Linked DNA regions of Homo sapiens: region 1 is linked to region 2. Evidence: promoter capture Hi-C in 16 types of primary human blood cells and fetal thymus (Javierre and others, 2016). All regions are on one chromosome and are shown on one strand. Each heading gives the region's core, a stretch centred on a gene start or on the middle of the fragment in contact. The rest is flanking DNA. Distances are from core to core; before and after follow the strand shown. Region 1 overlaps LOC105374211 (a long non-coding RNA gene). Region 2 holds the start of SLC7A14 (solute carrier family 7 member 14).

The links. Contacts are between HindIII fragments. The CHiCAGO score rates a contact against its expected background, and 5 or more counts as called.
Region 1: a contact is called between a fragment that was not itself captured here and the fragment with the promoter of SLC7A14 in region 2, in 1 of 17 cell types (endothelial precursors). The highest score is 5.5, in endothelial precursors.

The regions. Positions count from the first base shown.
Region 1 is chr3:170,834,709-170,839,594 of GRCh38, reverse strand. It overlaps LOC105374211 (a long non-coding RNA gene), which reads right to left. Exons shown (of 3, transcript XR_924701.2): 3 at 1,972-2,282. Among named protein-coding and RNA genes, the nearest start is that of RPL22L1, 33 kb to the left of the region's middle. RefSeq lists an enhancer at 3,729-4,292. The HindIII fragment of the contact is 1,166 bases long and covers 2,248-3,413 here.
Region 2 is chr3:170,582,587-170,587,812 of GRCh38, reverse strand. SLC7A14 (solute carrier family 7 member 14) reads left to right here and starts at 1,738. Exons shown (of 8, transcript NM_020949.3): 1 at 1,738-1,902. The region is part of intron 2 of SLC7A14-AS1 (SLC7A14 antisense RNA 1); the gene reads right to left. RefSeq lists a silencer at 2,959-3,253. The HindIII fragment of the contact is 6,611 bases long and covers 1,351-5,226 here.

The DNA of each region.
Region 1 (4,886 bases), core at 1,581-4,080, 250 kb before region 2:
TTTGTCAGGAGCCATGTTAGAAAGATATACATATTCCAACAATATTGACATAACTAAATATATTATGGAAATATTGCTTTGAATCTTGAAAACTGAAGTCCATTTATTAAAATATCCTCTGTGGTGACAAATTGTCATCATTTTCAGTGAGGTTGAACTTCTGGAAACATAATCATTTGGTGACAAGTATGGTAAATAGTGTAGGTGAAATAATCTTGTTAAAAACAACGTGGAATACTTAATAATGAAAGTGGTTTTGAAAGCACTTCCAAGGACAAGTTACAAAAGATGGCCAATGTCTTCCCACACAGTTATTCAATATGTAAGCTGAATATTGGGATGTTTTTGGACTTTGTTTTGTCTGTAACAGCCTCGTTTTACTCTTTTATTTTTAATATTTTAGTTTAAAGTGCTTGAGGAGAGCACACTTATAAAATGAATCCTAAGCAATCATTTTAAACTAAAGAAATTATCATATGAATAAACAGTAGATCACTGCAAGTTCAGATTTATTAACACTTGCATGTTGTTTGTTGTTTTAAAAAATCTGAATGCTTTCATGGCATATTTTGTGATTATATCATCTTTAAGATACTAAGTTGATTCATTTTGGTCCTTTCCAGGTCTCCTTAAATTTAGTTTTTTACCCTTGATTTTAGTTATCCATATTAGGCTTATCAGAAATAAACCATTGCAACACAGGCAAAATCCCCTCACACCCACCTCCTCAGTCCCCCACTGAGGATAACTTCTTCCCATGCAGAGATACATTATCCCCCGCATTGGTCACTGTTCAAAAACCGAATTCTATTTTGTTACCTAGGTTTTTCACTACACAGGTAGGCATTATCACATGTGGACCTGGCTCTATAGCTAGAAAAGCAGGGTCAAAGATGCAGCCCTTCCACGTGCCAACTATTACTCAAGTTGCTCAACTGCTCTGTGCCTTAGTTTTCTTGTGGGCAAATTGGAAATTATTGTAGCTCCTAATTTATGGATTGTAAGTTTTAATGAGTTTAAAACACCACAAAGAGCTTCTGGTAAATGGTGAATCTCAATAAACATTTGCTATTATTAATATACTAAAATAAATATATAGACAGGGCATGGTGACTCACGCCTATAATCCCAGGAGGATTGCTTGAGGCTAAGAGTTCAAGATCAGCCTGGGCAACATAGAAAGACCCCCATCACTACAAAAAAAAAAAAAAATAGCTAGGTGTGGGCGTGGTGGTGCACTCCTGTAGTCCTAGCTACTTGGGAGGCTGAGGTGGGAGGATCACTTGAGCCCAGGAGTTCAAGGTTACAGTGAGTGATAATCATGCCACTACACTCCAGCCTGGGCAACACAGTGAGACCCTGTTTGTAAAAATTAAAAAAAAAAAAAGAAAAGAAATTAAATCAATAAAATAGATATACAGAGTAGCCTTTTAGCTGTATAATTATTCTTTTAATTTAGAAATGTATGGAGAACATTCTCCCATACCTGTAAACACATATTTTATAGCTGATAGTATTTCAGTTTATGGATACACAATAATTTACTACATTAACCCACTACATTGGATATTTAGATGTTTCTAAATTTTTGCTTTTGTAAATGATGTGACAACTTTGTTCATTATTGTTTCCTTAAAATAATTGCAGTTTATGGGCAATTTTATACTGTGGGTGTTTTTTGTGGGTTTTTTTTTTTTTTTTTTTTTTGGTAGAGATGAGGTCTCACTATGTAGCCCAGGCTGGTCTTGAACTCCTGGCCTCAACGATCCTCCCACTTCAGCCTCCCAAAATGCTGGGATTGCAGGTGTAAGCCACTGCATCTGGCCTCAGGTACATTTTTAATCATTTTGATTTTATTTTCCAAATCAGCCATTAGAACTGCATCAACGTACAGTCACATCTATAGAGACTATATTAATCTCTAGAGCTAATCATGTACATTTCAGTCTGTACATCAGCATAATTCCTCTCTACTGCTCTAATATATTAGCTGCCTCTATACATTTAACACAGACTTCTCACACAGAAAAACAGGTTTTTACTAGTTCAGTCACCCAAATTATCTATATTATTGCAAATGCCTGGTTCTTTCCCACTGCCTTTGTCTTTCTTCTTGATTCCATTTCCTGTCTCGTCTCTACTCCTTTCTCCTTACATCCTGTTGCATGTCTGTTTCTTCAGAAAGGTGCAAGCTCCCAATCTCAGGAATTTTCTTCTGACCTGCTATCACTAGAGTTCTTCAAAGCTTAGGGTCCCTACTGCACAAAGATCTGGTCTTCTTCCTTTAAGCCGGATGAAATAAAAGATGAATACTAAAGAAGGCTTACAATGAAAGCAGAGGCAGAAAACAATAAAAGAAGAGAAACCGGCCGGGCGCGGTGGCTCACGCCTGTAATCCCAGCACTTTGGGAGGCCAAGGCGGGCGGATCACGAGGTCAGGAGATCGAGACCATCCTGGCTAACATGGTGAAACCCCGTCTCTACTAAAAATACAAAAAAATTAGCCAGGCGTGGTAGCAGGTGCCTGTAGCCCCAGCTACTCGGGAGGCTGAGGCAGGAGAATGGCGTGAACCTGGGAGGCGGAGCTTGCAGAGAGCCGAGATCGCGCCACTGCACTCCAGCCTGGGCGAGAGCGAGACTCCGTCTCAAAAAAAAAAAAAAAAAAAAAAAAAAAAAAGAGAAACCTCTACTATGGGGGATGATTCTAAGGTAGGGCTCATGTACGTGGAAGTTCTTTATACATTGAAACAAAAACATTTAAGAGACATCCTCAGGTGTAGAAACAAGGCATAGAACAAAGTGTAGTGAATGTTGCCATTTGCATTAAAAAACAGAGTATAAGAATATGTGTGTGTTGCTGGTTTATCCATAGCACACATCTGACAGCATACCAAACACTCTGGTAGCTCTCATGGCCTCAGGAAAGCTGGGGGTGAAGAACAAGGATGTGAAAGGGTTCTTTTCATTCCCTATCCTTTCATACAGTTTGATTTTTTTTTTTTTTTTTTTTTTTTAAGACAGAGTCTCCCTCTGTCGCCAGGCTGGAGTGCAGTGGTGTGATCTCGACTCACTGCAACCTCCACCTCCCAGGTTCAAGCGATTCTCCTGCCCCAGCCTCCCGAATATCTGGGATGACAGGTGCGCACCACCATGCCTGGCTAATTTTTTTTTTTTTTCTTAAGTAGAGATGGGGTTTCATCATGTTGACCAGGCTGGTCTCAAACCCCTGACCTCAGGTGATCCACCTGCCTTGGCCTCCTAAACTGCTGCGATTACAGGCGTGAGCCAATGCACCCAGCCTGAGTTTTGAACTATATGAATGTATTGTCTGTTCAAATGTAGATAAGTAAAATATGTTAAAACTTCTCATTAGTGAATGCGTTGTATTACTCCTTAACTTACATAATGAAGCTTTTCTCTTTATAACCCACTCCCTGTCTTTATCCTAAATTGTCCTATTAGCATACACAATAAAGGACCCCGGGGACTAAAAGGCATTCTTCTGACAAAATTGTTAATCGTAAATTTCAATTATCCACAGCCTGAATATGACACATCTCTGTCATGAAATCCTTCCATGTTATCTTCATTTTCATTTTATGTTGGGTAAAAACTAAGGGTTTGGGAGGGAGGGGCAGCAATTGCTTGTAGGTTTCAAACTCAGAGGCAGGGTTGGAGGAAAAAAAACCTAGGCTTTCCTTTTTTCTTTTCTTTCTGTTTTTTTTTTTTTTTTTTTTTTTTTTCAGAAGGAGGAAGCTCATTATGTTTGGATCACCCACAGCTATAGATTCTAAAAATATTTTGGCTTTTTTTGAGGTGCTTTAGTAAAATATAACCCCAAATGATTCACTTGGACAAGTGGTCTTAACAGCAAGGAAAACAAACACTTTATGAAAACAGCTATAAGCCTTCTGTCTTTTATCTTTACTATTTTCTCCGAGTCTGGCATGAAACAGATACACAGCAGCCTCCACAGGGGGTTAAGTAGAGAACCATCCAAGCATCACAGAGTGTCATCCAGAATTCTGATGACTTCCATTCGTTGACTCTGATGCACAATATGCCTGGCTTGGGATGCAGCGACCATGATGCCCCTCCCAGAACAGACACTTGCAGAGTGTTCCAGGAACAGCAGCTCCCTCCAGCCCCCAGCACAAGATGCACACATCTCAGAACAAGCCTCCATCCTTTTCCTAGAGAACTGAGCATAAATAACTTGTTCTATATCTGGCTCCAAGTCCATTTCTGTTCTGTCTTGGAGTAGAGTCTTAGCTCCCAGTTTGTTTTAGGTCAACTTTCAGCACCTACTTCAGCTCACTTGTTTGATTTACTAAGCTCTTGCTTCTGTATATTATCAAATGTAGGGATGTAGGGAGAATAAAAGGATCTAGATACTTGCTTTTAGGAGAGATTAGAACAAAGCTGAAGGTGGAGGCATTAGTTCCTAGGTCTTCAGATCTCAGAGCAAAGGACCCACTCTGGAGCCTAAATTCTATGAGAGACCACAGAGCAGCCTGAAATCCAAAGGAGTTTTACACAGGAAAAAAAAAATACTGTGAGGACTTACACTAAATAATAATGTTGTTTTGAATGGGGTTGTGGGTAATTCCTATATTCTTCTTTATAACTTTTGTACTTTTCAAATTCCCTAATGTGAACTCACTACTTAGTAGGTCTGTAAGCTTAAACATTACTATGGCTTGGAATCTCATTTCAAAAAATCTTTAAAATGGGGACAAGAGTAAAAATTTCTTAGCTTCTATGGAAGAATAAAATGAAATTATAATGATACAGTGCCTGGCATGTTGTGGTCGCTCAATAAACACTGCTTTCCTCCCCATTGTCCTCCTCTTTATTCTGTTTCATTACAAGGTCAGCAGATTGAA
Region 2 (5,226 bases), core at 489-2,988:
TTCCATGACAAATCCCATCTTCCCATCTTATCACCCTCATAATTCATTTGGACTAGAATAGACTCAGGGTTTTCTTCAGCCCATAGTATTCATACTCTTTACCTTTTACAGTGACTTCTCATGTGCTATCCCATCTAAACATCACAACCATCTTATATAGAAGGCAGGTAGACATTCCTTTCCCATTCTGAAGATGAGAGTCTGACAATTTAAGTGATTTGTGAAAAATCATATGATAAGTAGCTGGCAGAACCTGCACTGAGATTCCAAATTTCTGATTTTTTAACTTTGCACTTTTCCTACAATGTCTCACAGCTTCTTGGTGATCCCAGGAGGTCTAACATATCCTGCAGAACTACTCAAAGCTTAAAATATGGGGATATTGTCAGGCTTAGATGCTCATCGAAGGCAGTAACAAGCTTGAGGTAGGTGGACTAACCAAGACTGTCCTGGCAATGATCAAGCAACTTTCTGGGAAGAGCCCAGGGCAGACCCACAAAGTAGAGCTAGATTTGAACTGCTCCACCCTAGAGGAGTATCAGTCAGCCAGTATTCTCCCCAAACACAAGCCCAGTGAATTCATTTCCAAGGATAGGAGAGTTACATTTTGTTGCCTCCCATGTGTTTTGAGGGCTTGGGCCAAAGTGCAAGAATTTATGTAGATAACTTTCATCCAAATCAGTCTACTCAATGCTTGTTAAATAATTCATTCGGTGATGTGGCCAAGCATGCCTGGGTTGGTCCCATCTAGTCCCAATCCTTTTGGGACATAACCTGGCTCTAGGACACTCATCTTAAAGGAGCTAATACAAAACAGAAACCTTATCTCACTCTTGTCTCCGTTTAGACTGGTACTTGTCTAGCCTGACCTCACAGATGCCTCCTTCCATGTTTAAAAGATGCTTTCACTGTATTAGCACACATCACATCCTTCTTGCCTTGTGAAATTTATTTTAACAAAGGTGGGGGAAAAAGAACTCTCCTTTATTGAGCTCCAAATACCTGTCCAACTCTAGGCTAGGCAATTCTAAGAACATGATGATTTCTCAATCTCATGACAATACTGCAAGGTGGTTATTTCACAGACGAGAGAAGAAAAGCTAGAAAGTTAAATGCTCCAAGGTCATACAGATTGGAATCCTAATGGCTCTTCAAATCTCAAGTCCATGATCTTTGCACCCATAAGATGTTGTGAACCCAACGATAAACTTAAGCTTTGAAGACAGAGGTGGGTCTTGTCTTCTTTAGGAGGAGAGGAGAAATCAACCTCTCTCATTTTTTCTTTCCTGTAGGGCTCAGGGATGTGGAAGTTTAAGAGCAACGAAGGCTCCGCAGAGGATGAGGGAAGCTTCCAGAGGGCAGGAAGGAGGTCTGGACAGCCCAGTCTAGCAGGGGCAGAGCTGCGGCAGATGCCTTCCCAACGCACAGACATTGCAGAGTCCTGCTGGTCCCTGCTTTCCCAGGGCAAAGAACTGCCCCCATCCACGGCCCCCTCAACCTCCCTGCAGCCTGACATAAGACACTGGAGGTCACAACTGGAGGCTCAGAAGGCCAGCGAGGAGTTGTGAGCGGCAGACAGAGGGGAAGGCAGGGGGGCCAGGTGGGAGGTGGTCTGGTGCCAGGCTTGGGCCCAGTATGTAAGGGGTTGGGCAGGCCATGTGACTCCAAGGAGGCGGAGACAGGCGAGCTGGAGGGAGGACGAGCAGGCACGGGGAGGGGTTCGGGGGGTGGGGGCCCAATCTGAATAATTGAGGAGCTGTTCAGCAGCAGCGGCTGCCTCCTGCCTTCCTTTGCCGCCACCACCACTTCCCATCCCAGCTAGAGAGACAGCTCCGCGCAGTAAGTGCGGACTGCCAGCCACCAGCCTTGGCAGCCAGCTCGTCGCCTCCAGCCCCGACCCCGGTAAGTGAACGGCCCCCTTCGCTGCCGTTTGTCCCCCTCCGCGCCCCCCGCGCCCCAGCGGGACCCCTGCAACTGGGATGGCCGCCTCTCCCGGAATGACCCAGGGAGCCGGAGTCACCGGGAGCGGGGGACCAGGAATATGGCGCGGAGGCCCAGGGCGCCCTCCGAGAAGGGGTTCCCTGGAAGAACCGAGGAGGTGGGTCGGGCTCTTTCCTGCTCTGGCCCGGAATGAGGCCCCGACTGCCCGCGGTCTGGGGGCACCGGGCTCTGACTCGCGGGAGCTGCCGGGCGGGGCGGGGGCCAGCGCGGCTCCGGCGCCGCTAGAGCGGGAGGCAGAAGGGGAGCCGCGAGCGGAATGCGGGCAGCCTAGGTCTCGGCAGACGCCGGGCCCGTCCTGTCCCCCGCCTTGGCGCGCACCCCGCACGGGCAGCTCCGTTCTCCGCCTCGGACCGAGACCATGAAACGGAGACGCTTTTCCGGCCGCAGACTCCGGGGAGGTCGGGAGCAACGTCTGCCCTTTTACCTGGGAGCAAACTCCTCAAAGGGACTCCCGCCGAGCCCAGCACCCCGACCAGGATGGTGGCGCCCCGAGGGGCGTCTGTCCCCGGAGAGTGGTGACTCTCCCGGGAGCGGCGAAGAGGACGTGACGGGAGCGGTGTCCAGGGAAGCTCCCTGCCCAGAGCCGGCAGCCCCAGCAAGGGGAGCTCTCCTGCACTGCTTCAACCCTCAGTCTCCTCTCTTCTCCCATTCCAAAGCACATCAGCTCCCCTCTAATCCAAGAGGGCCAGGTTAGGGCTGCGTGGCCACGCGGGATGCAGCCCCCACCCTCCTTCTCTCTCCTGTGTCACCCTGCCCCCTCCCCAAATGAGTATTTTATATTGCGATTGAAGAGTGAGCAAAGCAAAGGCGAGAAGAGATGCAGGAAGGCTAGAGCAGCGGGGCTCGCTCCTGTTCTGGCACTCCTCATCCCCCCACCTGTGTGAAGCTCGTTTCCTTGAGATTTTGAGCGGAGACACTCAAAGGAACTGGCTCTGGCGAAGGGATCCCCGCCTGAGTGTCGGTGAACGTCACTGGCCCGAATTGCCCAAGGGCCGCAGGATGTCACCCTGCCTCCCCCTAGGTATAGGGTCTAGGAGAGCGCTGGGGGCAAGGTAGCTCTCCTCCTCCGACTGAGTGCAGGGAATGGCGCTGTCCGCGGTGCTGAAAGTTCTCAGAGGCTGGGTGCTAATACCGCCAGGGCCCACATTCCCTGCGAGCAGAAACTGCGTTAGAACCCTAAAGGGTTCTAAGCAAGCGACCTAGAGAAACAGGAGAAGAAGGGGCTTTGCCTTTCCCGGTTTTCTGCTTCCCCAGGACTCCGCTTGGGAAAAGGTTCCCGGCTTTCCTGAGTGGAAGAGCAGGAAGCGGGTGTCACTTCAGGATCCAGTTTTGCTAACTTCGGGAGCTTCCTCGTTCTACTTCCTATACCTGAGCAGTGAGACTTCCTGTCGGTAAAGTGTTGAAAGGCAGTTAGGGATGCTGTTTTGATAATAAACATTTCTGTGGCTTTCAGGAATCAGAGAATTGTTAGGCTACACAAAGGAGGGGCTTCATGGTTGTAGCTTTTTCCTCTTCTTAGAACCCTTCTTTCCCCACTGCATGTTATTTACATGCTCTAGATAAAGATCGCTAAGCAGCCCTGTATGTTTGTTTCTTTAGCTAGTCTTTTATATTATGGGCAAGATGGGGAAAGGATTGAGCCAATTTGGGGAGGCCTATTTGTACTGAACACCTCTATCTGCTGGGTAATAATATTTCATTTAAACTTCACAATAGCTGCCAACCAAAAGTATCACACAGAGAAGGAAACAGAAACTTGATTCCAGAGATTGGATTCAAAATCAGATCTATTTAACTCAAAGTCCAAGCCATTTTCATGCCTTCATTTTGGTATTTGGCTCTGAATAGCTGTTATTGGAGATTATAGCAGGAGAATGACAAAGGAGGGAGGCCTGCTCTTCTCTTTCACACACTCTCCTCTCTTCCAACCCTTTTCTCTTTAATCCGTTCACCCACTCACTGTCATGCACTCCCACCCTCCCAACTGCTTTTGCATGCTGCTTGAGATACCACTGTTCACACAACTTCAGCTCCAATATTATGGAAACAAGTTAGAGAACTAAACCAGCAGCCTTTTCTAAAAGAGTAGCAGGGCTTCAGGAAGTCTGGAGAACTAGAGTCCACATGTACTTTCATATTTAGAATTATACTGTTGAATTTTAGAACTAGAATAGCTTTGAATATCATTTAGCACCATCGTTTTACAAGAAAGAAAACTTGGAAACCAAAAGATGGTCATTAGTCTAAGTCACATGATTGAAAAATTAGAACCCAGTTAACTTGATTCCAGGCCCAGGGCCTTTCCCACTATTTCATGGTGTCTGAAATACTCTTCCATACTGCTTTCTTTGATTATCTTTGACTAAACGTCAGCATCAGTGAACTAAATTAAACAACATGCCAAAAATACAAACACTTAACATACAAGCATTCCTCTTACCTTTCTTCCAACTCCTTTGTCTTCCAGCTCTTTCCCCTCTGGTCCTACTATTCCAGTGTTGTCTAACCCAACATACCTGGGAGATATGACCCACCTTCCTCAGTAACAGTTTTCTCTGAAGCAGCAATTCACAAATGGGAATGGTAGTGTGTCATTTCTTTACTTGCCCTATCTTGTCTATATCTCCTCTTCTATGACCTATTCCCCAAAAAATAATTTTCCCAAAATTGGTTACCCTAAGCAACTGCCCATGTTCTCATAGGGACTGGGAAAAGGCCCTAATAAGACCTAAGGATTTTTATAAATAAAGATCATTATAAGTGCTAATATCTATGAAATGCTTATCATATGTGAGGCACTATGTGAAGTTATTTCATCAATCATTTTACTGAATTATCACAATTCTGTCAAGTAGGTGGCTCCACTAAAGATGGTCCTAGGATTCTAGTTCGCTCTAACATACAGCAGAACCTGATGTTCTGTTCATTTCCTCTTTCTTCTCTTTCCAGCTCATAGTAAAGTCTCATCTTCATCAATTGGATTTTTGTATTTAATTGATAGTTCCATCCTGCTCCAAAACATAGCATTTAGAAATTCAAATTCAGTTCAAATGACACTGTTTTGCTCTCTCATCTCTTAATATTTACCAAACATATTCTCCCCATTTGTTATCTCTTATTTAAAAATTCCCATATGGCTTCTTATTGATAATGTCAACATTCTGCTTCAAACCTTCTCTAGAGCCAATTAAGGTATAATTTGTAATTAAATACATAACTTCTATT